3 separate regions of the Homo sapiens genome follow, and regions 1 and 2 are each linked to region 3. The links are contacts of gene promoters, found by promoter capture Hi-C in blood cells and fetal thymus (Javierre and others, 2016). All regions are on one chromosome and are shown on one strand. The core of a region is centred on a gene start or on the middle of the fragment in contact, and the rest is flanking DNA. Distances in the headings are between cores, read along the strand shown.

The links. Contacts are between HindIII fragments. The CHiCAGO score rates a contact against its expected background, and 5 or more counts as called.
Region 1: a contact is called between a fragment that was not itself captured here and the fragment with the promoter of CFAP45 in region 3, in 17 of 17 cell types (naive CD8 T cells, total CD4 T cells, total CD8 T cells and 14 more). The highest score is 15.4, in naive CD8 T cells.
Region 2: a fragment that was not itself captured here is called in contact with the fragment with the promoter of CFAP45 in region 3 in 12 of 17 cell types (naive CD8 T cells, naive CD4 T cells, non-activated CD4 T cells and 9 more); the score reaches 9.7 in naive CD8 T cells.

What each region holds. Positions count from the first base shown.
Region 1 is chr1:159,786,210-159,790,933 of GRCh38, forward strand. No RefSeq gene overlaps it. Among named protein-coding and RNA genes, the nearest start is that of DUSP23, 7.6 kb to the left of the region's middle. RefSeq lists a cis regulatory region at 4,082-4,459. The HindIII fragment of the contact is 7,543 bases long and covers 1-4,724 here.
Region 2 is chr1:159,802,988-159,807,500 of GRCh38, forward strand. FCRL6 (Fc receptor like 6) reads left to right here. Exons shown (of 10, transcript NM_001004310.3): 2 at 3,609-3,629. LOC105371464 (a long non-coding RNA gene) reads right to left here and starts at 4,043. Exons shown (of 3, transcript XR_922195.2): 1 at 1-4,043. The HindIII fragment of the contact is 3,499 bases long and covers 1,345-4,513 here.
Region 3 is chr1:159,897,074-159,901,966 of GRCh38, forward strand. It overlaps CFAP45 (cilia and flagella associated protein 45), which reads right to left and starts at 3,092. Exons shown (of 12, transcript NM_012337.3): 1 at 3,023-3,092. The coding sequence starts at 3,025. MIR4259 (microRNA 4259) reads right to left here and starts at 3,006; the gene lies at 2,906-3,006. It overlaps LOC124904435 (a long non-coding RNA gene), which reads left to right and starts at 3,177. Exons shown (of 3, transcript XR_007066679.1): 1 at 3,177-3,740. The HindIII fragment of the contact is 6,665 bases long and covers 1-4,893 here.

The DNA of each region.
Region 1 (4,724 bases), core at 2,158-4,657, 110 kb before region 3:
CTTTGGCCAGGCATCCCACTTGCCAAGACTTTTCCTGGCTTCAGCCCATAAAGGCATCTACCTTCATGATTAGAGCTTGGCCTCATGGGCCGTCTCATCAACATGGCTTCCAGTGACCACCCTTTTTATTCTCTTAGGAAGCCAAAGAACAACGCTGCATCTGACACTCACTTCAATAGCACCTGAATTATGTGCTTCTCCTTAAAATGTGGCCCAGTGACATTTTGGGCTGGATGATAAAAAATAAAAATAAATTAAAAATGTGGCCCGAGTATTTAAGAGCAAAATATTGACACTGATTTATCAGGGTGGTTCTCTCACATCCACTATTATCTAATTCAAAGCAAACAGATATCCTTATCTGGCATGACAGTCTTAAGGCCTGTGTGTCTGGTATCAAGCCCTCAAAAATGTCTTTTTATGTCTGATGATTTACTGAAAACCCTAATACCCTTTCTGTTTTCTTGTTGCTTGAGCCCTTAATGCGTGCCAGGCACTGTGCCAAATGCTTTACAGACGTTATCTCATTCCATCCTCAAAAAAGAAAAGAAAAGAAAAAACAGAACAAAACAGAAAATACCCTGTGAACAAAGCATTACAATAACCAGTGCACAGATGGATAAACTGACCCAGAGAGTTTAGGTGATCTGCCCACAGTCACCGAGTTGAGCAGGATTCAAACTTTGGGCTGTCTAGCTGTAAACCGCCGGTTGCCTTCACTCTTGGGAGGAGAGAGAATAGACTTTGTTGTAATTAGAAAATATATAACAGCATCTCGTATTCCCCAGAATGGAGTCATCTGGACTCACAGGGCCATCAGTGGAGCTCTCCAATCACACAGCTTCCCCAGCACTGCTGCTCAATGTTCAGTGGCATAACTCTGACTTGGGAGCGTGCAGGCTGCCAGCACAGTCATCATCTCTAACAGGCTTCTGCCTCAAGCCTCCAACACCATCAAAAATATAATCCCCTGTTGACTTAGAAATAAATTACATAAGCACTTCTTCCATTACTTTAAAATTTTTCTCTGGCTATTATGGATTCGAGGCATGCTCTTGAGAAGTCAGCTTGTCCAAGCAAGCAGAAATTTAAGAAACACTTTGGTGCATGTCCATGCCTGAAATTGATGACTTATTTGCAACCTTGATAACAGAGTTTCTTGTGCCAATAAATTGCTTAAATTGCTTTGACAACTCTTTCACCCTATTTTTCCACTGACTTACTCTGTCACCACAGATATATAATCATGAAATAAATTAGTGATGTTTTCAATGTGTGGCATTCAGTATGGCAAACAGTTCTGGGATTATTTCCCTGCTAGCTTTTGTCAACAAAAAGAGTCAAACTCTAAAATATTTTAAGAGATTTACTCTGAGTCAAATATGAGTGACCATGGCCCGTGACACAGCCCTCAGGAGATCCTGAGAACATGTGCCCAAGGCGGTCAGGGTACAGCTTGGTTTTATACATTTTAGGGAGGCACAAGACATCAATCATCAAATGCATTTAAGAAATACATTGATTTGGTTCAGAAAGGTGGGACAACTCAAAGCAGGTGGGGAGGAGGCTTCCAGGCTACAGGTAAATTTAAACATTTTCTGATTGACAATTGGTTGAGTTTGTCTAAAGACCTGGGATCAATGGAAAGGAAATGTTCAGGTTAAGATAAAAGATTGTGGACCGGGCACAGTGGCTCACGCCTGTAATCCAGCACTTTGGGAGACCAAGGTGGGCGGATCACGAGGTCAGGAGTTGAAGACCAGCCTGGCCAACATGGCGAAACCCCGTCTCTACTAAAAATACAAAAATTAGCTGGGCGTGGTGGCATGTGCCTGTTATCCCAACTACTCGGGAGGCTGAGGCAGGAGAATTGTTTGAACATGGGAGGTGGAGGTTGCAGTGAACAGAGATGGCACCATTGCACTGCAGCCTGGGCAACAGGGTGAGACTCCGTCTCAGAAAAAAAAAAAAAAAGATAAAAGATTGTGGATACTAAGGTTCTTTTGAAATCTTATAGTGGCTGCTCTTAGAGATAATAGATGACAAATGGTTCCTATTCAGGCCTTTAAAACGTACTAGATTCTTACTTAATCTCTTCAGGATTGGGGGGCCTGGAAGAAAAAGATCTAGCTGTGTTAATAGAGATTCTTTACAGATGCACACGTCCCCCCACAAAGGACAGCTTTGCAAGACCATTTCAAAATATGGCAAAGAAACATGCTTTTGGGGTAAAATAGTTTGACCTTCTTCTTTGTCACATCATGTTATGCCAGAGTCACATTGGAAAGTAAGTCACAATATATAGGGTTAAATATAACCCATCTGATGAGAATTTGTGGTTTGAAGGTCATGAGTCCCCAGGCCCCTTAGATAGGAATTTGGGCAAGATAAAAAAAAATCAGAGCTCAGTCCTCACTTTTTAAATTATTATTGTTTTTATTTTTCTTTTTTGAGATGAAGTCTCACCCTGTCGCCCAGGCCGGAGTGCAGTGGCACAATCTTGGCTCACTGCAACATCCGCCTCCTGGGTTCAAGTGATTCTCCTGGCTCAGCCTCCCGAGTAGCTGGGACTACAGGCACCCACCACCACGCCCAGCTAATTTTTTGTATTTTTAGTAGAGATGGGGTTTCACCGTGTTAGCCAGGATGATCTTGATCTCCTGACCTCATGATCCGCCTGCCTCAGCCTCCCAAAGTGCTGGGATTACAGGCGTGAACCACCGCACCTGGCCAGTCCTCACTTTTACAGTAAACACACCAATGAATCTTCTTTAATAATATACATTGAGCGTTAGCGACTCTACTCCAAACTCAAAGGGACCCCATGGGAAACATTAATCCATGCACCATCCCACAGGTGACACCACTTATCTTCTTCACTAGATTTTGTGTGCCCTTGGGCTCCCCCACCCCAGTGAAATTCACTGATTTGCATGTTTTCCATAGGTACACTTCCTGAGATCTAGCTGGGGCTGGGTGCAGCCTAGAGCCATGGAATAGAATTAAAGTAGCCACACTGGTATCAAGCCTACAGGCAGAACCATGCCGTTCTTGACCACGACCTGTAAGGACCTAAGGAATCCAATCATTTTCTTCATCTCCTTCCTCACCTTATATACTCCTCTCTCCCACAGGCTTTGTTCTCTTCTCTCTGCCTGTGTTGGTGGTCTGCAGAACCACTCTCAGGTTGGATGTTTTGCTAGAAGGACTCACAGAACTCAAAAAAGCTATTATACTCTTTTCTTTCCTCTCAAAATATTACCCTGTCTTGATATACTCTCGATTATAGTATATTACAATGAAAGGAAGTGGGTTAAAATCAACAAAAAAGAAACGTACGGGCTGGGTACAGTGGCTCACACCTGTAATCCCAGCACTTTGGGAGGCTGAGGCAGGTGGATCACGAGGTCAGGAGATCGAGACCATCCTGGCTAACACGGTGAAACCCCATCTCTACTAAAAATATAAAAACATTAGCCAGGGTGGTGGCACATGCCTATAGTCCCAGCTACTCGGGAGGCTGAGGCAGGAGAATCTCTTGAACCCCTGAGGTGGAGGTTGCAGTGAGCCAAGATCACACCACTGCACTACTGCCCTCCTGCCTGGGCGACAGAGCGAGACTCCGTCTCAAAAAAAGAAAGAAAGAAAGGTACATACAGCAGAGTTCAGAGGAAACTAGGCACAAGCCTCCAGTTGTCCTTTCCCAGTAAAGTCACATGGACAGTGCTTAATTCTTCCAGCAACAATGTATGACAGCACATACAAAATATGGCCAACCAAGGATGTTCACCTGAGCCTTGATGTCCAGCATTTGTTTTTAGTTTAGTTTAGTTTAGTTTATTTAGTTTAGTTTAGTTTAGTTTTGTTTTGTTGAGGTAGCAGGGGGTCAGTCACGTAGACATGCAGCATTCACATAACTCAGTCTCCAGCCCCAACACAGGTCAGACTGAAACAATATGGCCCGAAGCAGCCTAGGCATATACAAACAGGTGCTCACCATAAGTCACATTGTTAGCAGAAATCATCTGGCCTGGCTCATGGTCTCAGGTATACAAAGACACTCTTACCATGCAGGATATTTCAAGAATTCAGAGGTCTCAGAAGCTAATCAAGGGCAGTCTCAACGACCCTTGGAATGTGCAGGGTTTGGGCAATCCAGGCCTGCTGAGTTGATCTTTTACTGCACACTACTCCACACTACTTTTCCTGCACACTTTTTGTGCCCTCTCCACGTGACAGCCTGGGCAGGTGGGATGCTTTGCTCACCAGCTCTTTGCCTAGCTCCTAACTCCTACTGACCCCTACTGGTCATAGTTTAAACATCACTTTTTCAGGAAAAGGTTTCCAACAGGCCCCCATGTATTCCCAAAGTATCTGTCCTACCTTGAGGCCCTTTGCTCACCAATAATAATTCATTTAGTCATTTGATGTTACTCTGTATGCTGCTACAGTCTAAGGACCATGTGCATACCTCTAGCACAGTACAATGCCTGGCACATCAATATTCAATACTCAATAAACAGATGATGACTGACTAACTGATGTGCTGTCACTTACCTGGGTATCTGCACATAGGTGAATAAATGGGAAGAAAATAATAAATCTAGGGAATGGATAATCTAGTGGAGGAATACATGACATATGTACCCTCCTAAGTGTAAATGCAAAGTTGGATACAATTAGCCAATATGCAATGCATAAATACTTAAGCAATGGGATAGTGA
Region 2 (4,513 bases), core at 1,844-4,343, 94 kb before region 3:
TTGAAAGGCCTGTGCTCTGAGTAACCAAAGCCCTTTTCAAATTGACTGTCTCTCTTCCGCCTACATCTTCTCTCTGTTGGGAGCTGTTTCAGATCCATGGGGCTGGTTTGAAGAATCAACTCCATTGTCTGATCCATGTCTCTCTCTCTCTTCTCTCCATTTCTTCTCATGCAGGCTACTTGTAACTAAGAGAGCTGGTCTAAGGGTAGAGGATTGCACGCAGAGGGTCACTGGGCTCCCCCAGACCCAGCTCAGTCTCAGCCAGTGTCACCCCCCTTATACCTAAAAGAAATAATTTGGCATATATTTTGTTTCACTTTACAGTTTCCAAGTGGACCTACTTTTTGTTTAATTCTTGGTCCCAATAGCTTGCTTGCTATTTGTATTCCTTGAACTAGAAAAGCAAAACTGTTCCTAAATATAACCTCTTCCTGGACAGAGTTTGTGAGAATTTGACCCTGTGAGGAAAATGCCCCTTCCACTCAATGTTCCTTCTCCAGCATAGCATGCTACTCGTGTGTTCTATGAATGGCCATTTGGACAAATGAAAAGGTCTAATGCTCACACTGAGGCGGGGACAGGATAGCCTAATGCCTGGATATACTCCAGGCAGAAGACTCCCAGGGGCAAATGGCACTACCGGCACTACCTTGTAAAAGGAACAGCCCTTGGACTTGTCTAGATACAGTCTGAGAGTGTTCCAGCTTGGAACCCAGGACGAGGATGACAGACAGCAAATGAGGAGAGGAAGGGAATCAGTGACCGGCTGACTGGTGCACAGTGTAATGGAGAATCCAGCACCAGCAAATTTGGTCCCACTTGATGCTCAGGGACCCTGGAAAAACAGCCTAAAACACAGACACTGGGGCTGGGTGTGTAGCAACATTTATCTTACCATAAGTGTAGAGCTGCTATTTCCTCTCTCAAGAGCAGGGTGTGGTCATAATAAATTGGTGGCTATTACTATTATTGGCTGTCAGGGCTCCGGGAGGAAAGGAATCCTGACATTGAGCATGTGGGGACCTGGCTGAATGTGAAATATGTATTTAAAGTTTGGGAAATTAGGCTTAATTTTCTTCTGAGCTGAACATTAGCCAACTTCCCTCCTACCACTGGAGGCTGCTCCCCGCATTCTCACACAGCGTCCATAGGAGGTGTCATGGGGTCCCATACAGCCCTCCCAGCAATGTGACTGCTGCAGCTTGGCACTGCAGCCTGTTCCACAGTGCTAGAGCTCAGTGGTGAGAGAGTTCTTCATGTTGAGCCGAAATCTGCCTCCATGATCCCTCTAGTTTCCATTTCTGTCCTATAAAGTAACTCAGAATAAGTCTCCCCCTTCTTTTAAGCTTAGCCCACCAAGTATTTTGTGTCTTTCCTCTGTTGCATCTTTCCCAGATAAATATCTCCCGATCCCTCAGAAACTTTAAGAGGAAATTATCCTGCTCCTAGAGTTGGCAGGGGCTCCTGCCTTCATTTTTCGGAATTCTATTACGCAACTTGGTTTGACCATAGCTCTTGGCCACTTCATGATACTGTCACCTCATCTTCAGCCTATAGCTAATGGAGGTCCCTGGGCCCTCATTGCAGGAACTGCTGTAAGCAGGTGTCACCCCCTGTGTATGTTCCCAGTTGGCTGCTGTTTTGATTGCAGAAACCAATTTTGTAATCCCACCTCCAAGATCTTGCAGTACCATGGGGAGCAAGTCATTGAGATTTGGGGACAGGAGCTCATTTTAAGTGCATCTATGCTTCCTGAGTGCCTTCTGTCTTGTTTTTGGCTTCAGTAGTCTCAACCCTGTTTGTTTAGCACTTTGTAGCTGCACAATTGTTTTCCAGTGAGGTGGGGAAGGGAAGGAAGACATAACTACAGAGTAAGGTCTCTGTCACTCTGAGGTCAGGCCTTCTTTCTGCTTTCAGTTAATGTAGTAACCACTTTCCCAGGCAGTGGGTCAACATAACCTTCACAACTACACTGTAAGAAAAAAATGACTATTATCATTTCTATTATGTGATATGACAGAATGAGATATTGAAGGCTCTTGGAACTTAGACAACTTGTTCAAGGTCGTACAGAAAGAGGCAAATTCATGACTCAAGTCCAGGTCATCTGATTCCAAATCCTGCATGCTTTCCACTACACCGAGCTCATAGATGGGGGTTAGGGGTGGAGATGGAGGGATGATAAAGAAGAGACTCATTGTTCTGCACACTCTTGAGAGCATATGACTGAGCTGACCCTGAGCTGAATAGAGAATTGAGCTGAAAGATTCCACCTGTGTCCAAAGTAGTGTAGAAAGCAAAGATGATACCATGTGACAGAGCCAAACATCTGCTCTTAGAGGGTTTTCACCCACCCTTCCCAAGGCCATTCTTGCATTTTTTTTTTGGTGTTATGTAAAATACCTAGGACATGCCAGCAATGCAGGACACAAGTAAATGTATGAGGATTGGCTGGACTGACTGCACTCAGCCCTACATTCATTCATTGTTTCACACCTTGCCCCAAAGTCCAGAAGATTCTTCACTGCTTCATATCCAGCTATGACCTTCAATTTCAGGTCTTCCATTGTTTGGGCTATTCAAACCTATCTAACCATATCTGTCATCATTTTGTGAGTTGGCCCCTCTTCCCAGGTCACCTGTTCTCACACATTCACTCATTTAAAAACATGAATGTAGCACATCCAAGATGCAAGCATGATGTGGGATGCATCCAGTTTGTTTGTAGTTCTCTCATTCATCCATGCTGCCTGATAATGTCTCACATCCTTTAATGATTACTCTTTCAGGGGACTTATCCTCCTCAGTCTGGTCACTTCCATACCCTTTTTGCCAGAGCTCTGTGGAGAGATGGGACCACAAGAATCAGGTCCTGCCCTTGCTATATGGGTTCTCCTGTAGATGTTGGAGGTAGGACCCTCAGGCACATTCGTACAAGAGTCTAGTCCTATGTTTTCTACTTTTTGCTTCCCACCTCGTACAATGGGATGCAAAGGAAAACATTCATGCATTTATTCAGCAGATGCTTACTGAACACAGACTATGTTCCAGGCACAGGTCTTGGGCATAGAAAATATAGCAATGAGTAAAATAAGCAGAGTCCCTGCTACTATGGAGCTTATATTCTAGCCAGAGAGAGAGGTGATAACATGTAGGCAATTTAATGAATAAGATAAATTCAAATAGTGATAAGTGTTTTGAAGATAATACAATGGGGCATTGTTTTAGTGATTGGGGAAAATTCTTTTGATTGGAGTCCCAGGGAAGACCTGTTTGAGAAGGCAACATTTGAACTGTGATAGGGCAAAGAGTTCTAGGGAGTACGTCCAGCACAAACGTTGAGTAGTCAAGTGGCCGGGTGGTTGGGTGGTTGGGTGGTTGGATGGTTGGATGGTTGGGTGGTTGGATGGCTGATGGCTGGGTTGTTTGGTGGTTGAGTGGTTATGTGGTTGGATGGTTGGATGGCTGTGTGGATGGGTGGCTAGGAGGTTTGGTGGCCGGGTGGTTGGTTGAATGGGTGTAAGTCCCCATTGCTGAAGTGACAGGCCTCCTTGTCAGAAAGCTCTTTTTGCTACTTAACCTAATTGTGTTACTTTGTTCTCTTGCAGTTCCCTGTGTTGGGAAAACTGGTAAGTTGTGTCCATGTCTCTTCTAATTCAAAGTATGTCTATGGGCCAAAACTTACTGGATGGGAACAGGACAGTGCCATGGGGTCCCCCAGAAACATCTGCAGAGCAGCACCAGACTAGGCCCCTTCCTCAGGAGTCTTGGCCAGTTCCTAGGAAAAGGAGGAACTTGGAACTCCACTAGTCTAAGGCCAAGGGTAGTCCTAGGGTGACACAAGCCTCAGCAGTGGGACTCTAGGCCTCTATCTTATACCCTTAAAAGTGTCTGTGGCCTCTGTCTTCTCTTCAAGTGGTTCTGGAGCTCTTATATTCTCAACTCAACAAGACTGGGACTCCCTTCCTTCCTTTTATGTTCAGAGAAGCAGCAGGCACCTTTTTCTGCTGATCAGTCTTCCTTCCTTCCTCAGATCCCCTTCCCTCCAGCCCATTCTGTGACACTGACCTCCATGGAGCTTTCTGTCAAACAGGAAAAAATTCTGATCTATGAAATCTTGACCTCCAAGGACATATTCTGTGATTCCAGGGGGAGATAATTCAAACCAATACTTAGTGCTGTTAGAAAAAGCAGTAGTGGAAGCAAGACCTGCTGTTCGGTAATGCGGTGAGCATCGTTACTTCCAGGGTGAGGAGAGTGGGTCCTAAGGATCCAGAAGATCCAGGCAAGAGCAGGATGTGCTGGGGCTCCCTAACTGTTACTCCTCATTAGTCTCAGGCCATCAGGCCTGCTCAGAAGGCTGTCTGGGAATGGGGGTGTCTGGCTTATCAAAGAGATGATACAGGCTGGGGACAGATACAGGCTGGGGACAGATACAGACTGGGGACAGGCTCAGCCTGCCCTGCAGGTGATGGTGGATCCCTGGGAGCTCTTCTCCTGCTCACATCAGTGC
Region 3 (4,893 bases), core at 1,842-4,341:
GGCAACATGGCAAAACCCCATCTCTACAAAAAATATGAAAATTAGCCAGGCACGGTGGCGTACACCTATAGTCCCAGCTACTTGGGAGGCTGAGGCGGAAGGATTGCTTGATCCCGGGAGGCAGAGGTTGCAGTGAGCCAAGGTTGAGCCACTGCACTCCAGCCTGGGTGACAGAGCAAGACACTGTCTCAAAAAATAATAATAATAAAGAAATACATAAGTATTCTTGGCCAGGCATGGTGGCTCACGCCTGTAATCCCAGCACTTTGGGAGGCCAAAGTGGGTGGATCACCTGAGGTCAGGAATTTGAGACCAGCCTGTCCAACATGGTGAAACTCGTCTCTACAAAAAATACAAAAATTAGCTGGGCATGGTGGCACACGCCTGTAGTCCCAGCTACTCAGGAGGCTGAGGCAGGAGAATCGCTTGAACCTGGGAGGTGGAGGTTGCAGTGAGCTGAGATCACGCCACTGCACTCCAGCCTAGGCGACAGAGCAAGACTCCATCTCAAAAAGAAAAAGAAATGTAGAAGTACTCTTGTAAAGATGTTTGTATGGCAGGTATGTGCCCAGAATGTATTACTGAAAGCATGTTCAAAAAAATGTTTAACAGTATGTCAGGAACCTTTACCATCTTAAGATGTTTCTTTATTGAATAATTTCCTGCAATGAGTAGATACCAATTTTATGACCAGAAAAAAAAAACAATAAAACAATTTTTATTTGAAAACAAAGCATAGCAATGGGCCTGGTGCCCGAACTCTGAAAGCAAGAGAGTACAGACCTAAAAAAGAAAACAAACAAACAAACAAACAAAAAAACCATAGCATTATATATTCTGGGATCCAGAATGTTTCACTCAAATTCAGCAAGACAAAGCTGGAATGGGGCTAGAATAGGTCAGTGTGAAGTTTCCCTGATGTAACTTCAACACCTGTCAACTAAACAGGTTGACATGTTCAGGAAAGATATGTCTTTTCCTAGATGTCTTACCCATTCTGAGATCTAGTTCTTCTTTTGCACAGTCTCCGCAGGCTGGCAAATTCAGGCTTCAAACTCTTGGCCTGGTTCTACTTCCCTTTCTGTAGACTTTGGTTACCAAGAAAGGGAGATTCCCATGCACGAGACCCCTTGCCTTTTACTCTGAGTGATCCACGCAATTATCCTCTTTCTTCAATTGGGACCAAGTTGGCCATCTGTAGGATGCCACCAGAAGATAACATCCTAGTCAGTACTGAGGTCCCCATCTCTCCTTCTGCAGGATTTTAATCATTATTTTTGTAAGAGTTCTGGAAGTCTGCCTAATTGTGACCCTCACCACCACTACTATCTCTTCTCATGCCTTTAAATATTCTCCAAACCTAGTGAGTAGCACTATACGTACACGAACACACACAGCTGGCCTGCCAGAGATCACTAACTTAGACCCACTGCTTCTCAAAGGTGTCTATATGCCCAGTCCTGTCCCAGGAATTACAGAGGGGCTCAGTGAGTGAGTCAAACCCCTGCCCTGAGTGGCTCCTGGATGGGGAATCCCTGATCTGGGTGCTCTGAAGCCCACAGGTCTTGCCCAGGTGCAACTTATGCCCTATGAGAGCTTGGAAATAGGAAATTTTTAAAAGAGGACAAAAGGGGAACTAACATTTACCATATGCCCTTAGACACCAGGCATGACAGTAGGTGTTCACATACATACATACGCCACTGTGTTTGTAAGGTGCTGAGAGAAGATGGGACACTGAATCAAATAGAATACATAAGTGAAAGGGGACGCTCCCCCACCCCAATTACAACACTGCAGGGAGTCCTCGAAAGTCAGGAACTGCTCTTTGTTGGAGACTTATTTAATAATTAACAAAATTCTTCTGAGGTCCACTGAGCCCCAGAAAAGCAATGCAGCCCCTGGGCCTGAAGTCTGTCCACAAGTACATCCAAGTAGCAACCTTTGCCACCTGTTGTGCCCCAGACATTCTAGGTCAGTTCCAATAACCCAAGACTCCAACACTTATCATCTGCCCTTCCCCTCCCCTCTGGGACCAACACACTCAAGCCCAGGCATCCCCTTCATGGTTCCTCCCAGGCTTTGCTGGCCTTCTCAGCCCTCAGTACCCTGACAGCCCTCCCCATCCCAGCAAACCCCAGGCTGCCAGTCCTGTCCCAATCTCTCTCCCGGGCCTTGCAAACCTGAGACCCTCCTCACTCACTCACTCATTTATTCATTCATTCATTCACTGCCAAATATTTATTGACTAACTACTGAGGGATACAAAGCCCTGCTAACAGAAGAAAAACCTGAGGCTCGGGCACATTAGATGACTTACCCACAGTCACCTTGCTAGTTAGTGGCAAAACAGGTACCACGACCCATTATCTGGCCTCCTCACCAGTGCTTTTTTTTTTTTTTTTTTTTTTTGAGACGGAGTCTCGCTGTGTCGCCCAGGCTGGAGTGCAGTGGCGCGATCTCGGCTCACTGCAAGCTCCGCCTCCCGGGTTCACGCCATTCTCCTGCCTCAGCCTCCCGAGTAGCTGGGACTACAGGCGCCCGCCACCACGCCCGGCTAATTTTTTGTATTTTTAGTAGAGGCGGGGTTTCACTGTGTTAGCCAGGATGGTCTCGATCTCCTGACCTCATGATCCGCCCGCCTCTGCCTCCCAAAGTGCTGGGATTACAGGCGTAAGCCACCGCGCCCGGCCCACCAGTGCTTTTTCCCACACCACATCCACAATCTTTGGTCCACAGAGGCCCCGCTGTAATGGCAACGGGGAGAGGGTTGGGGCATCCCTTTCTCCCCAACTCCTCCGCTCAGCGCGCTCCACATTTCCAATCGTTATCGATGCTATCCCTAATTCCTCTTTTGAACCCACCTCAGGATCTCCCTTGCTTCTTCTAGAGGTGTTCTCCTTACTCCTGGGCCCTCCTGACCCCTAGACCCAACTGTGACCTCCCCTAGGCCCCCACTTTCCCCACTCAGAGCCCCCACCCAATTCAGGACACAAGGGGCCCATCTGAGGTTCTCCCTCACCATCTCCTCAGCCACACGCCCTGACTCCGGACTTCTGCTGCCGCCTCGGCGCCGCCAAGGCCCTAGTGTTGACGCGTTACCTTGGCAACCACTAGCCCGCGTTCTTCGGCTCAGGCCCCGCCCCCGGCCCCGCCCCTCCCACCTCCAGCGGGCAGTTGCCTTGTGCTGGTGGCTTAGGAACCGGAGCCCGTCGCTCCAACCGTTGCAGCTCCACGCTCCAGCCCAACCGCGGCTCTGAAGGATTGACCCGCCCTGGCGTGCCCTGCTCTCCACTTTGGCTTTGGCCAAACTTTTCGGTCAGAACCCGAACCTAAAGAACTTACTATGGGCCGAGGGGGTTCTAACTGTCAGCGGCCCCAGGAGCCTGGCCCAGGGTCACAGTTTTCCCCTGGGACTTCACCTAGGTTGCTATGATTACTCTTGCCCCATTGCCCAGGAGGCGCCAAGCCAACCCCTGATGAGTGTAGTCTGCAGAGAAGCCAGCAGGATCAGGACAAACCAGTTCCACAGCAGGAGAGAATCTGGTCGGGTCAACAAAGAACTTCCAGCCCTGAGGATGTCTATGCAGTCTCAAGAGCAGTTTCTTAAATTGCGGGCCTCAAATCTGCAGCTAAGAATCACCTGGGAGAGTTTATTAAAAATGGAGGCCCTACATTAGAATAAGTCAAAAGCTAAGGAACTGACTTTGGGGAGCTTGTCTTTTAACACTTCCTAGCTGGTATGTATTGTTCTAGAAAGTACATAGGGGTTTTGTCATTTTTTCCAATTTGGTTTGGCCTCTCTACCTCCCAACTTGCAGGGCTGGCACTGAGCTCACTTTGGTAGGCTGCATGCTCCAAGCCTCACGAAGCTGTCCCACCAGACCAAGGACATTTGTCTTCCTCCAGTGCTGATTAGCTGATTAGCTAAGCTCTTGGTGTGACTCTGTGAGTCTCTGAGCTGCTTTCTCAAACCTCTCTCCAAACCCTCACAGCCAGTCTTTCTGAAGCTCTTACTCCAACTTGGGCACTGAAGGCTATTCACAAGCCCCGGGGGAATGGAAAGAGGGAGACAAGGTCACTTCTTGCTGCTTTTAAAAGGACTTACTCCAACAGGCTTCACATTCCTTCCCTAGATTTCCCAGCCTTTATCTCCTTTGGGATCAAGAGTACAAAATTGTGTCCCCTGCCCAGTCCCACCAAGTGTTGAAGGCTTAATCAGAGGGAGAAGGGAAGGCCTGAAGAGGAGGAGCACAGTCCCTGGGAGGCTTGGGACTGAGAGAAGGGGCTGTTTTGTTCGTGGGAACCTTCCTTACTAAGCCTTGGCATTAGAACCCCGTTCCCTGCAGCTCAGAAAGAAGGGAAGACAAGTAACCGGCCCACTGTGAATAAGGTGCTTCCTGTATTCACCCCATTCTCCCAGGCACATCTGCATGACATAGTTACTATCCGTGTAACCAAAGAGGAAACAAGCCAAGAAAAAACTGTCCAAATTGAAAATCTATTCTTTTCTCAGCCCAGGGTAACTCTCTGAAGAAAAGGTGCAAAGTTGAGGCAGAAAGGGCTGGGCGCGGTGGCTCATGCCTGTAATCCCAGCACTTTGGGAGGCCAAGGTGGGCAGATCACGAGGTCAGGAGTTCGAGACCAGCCTGGCCGACATAGTGAAACCCCGTCTCTACTAAAAATACAAAAAATTAGCCGGGGGTGGTGGCAGGCACCTGTAATCCCAGCTACTCAGGAGGCTCAGGCAGGAGAATCACTTGAAGCCAGGAGGGGGAGATTGCAGTGAGCCAAGATCACTCCAGCCCAGGCAACAATGCAAGACTCTGTCTCAAAGAAAAATTAAAAAAGTTATGGCAGGAAGGAGGGAATGACAGAGTGCAGTGTAAGGGA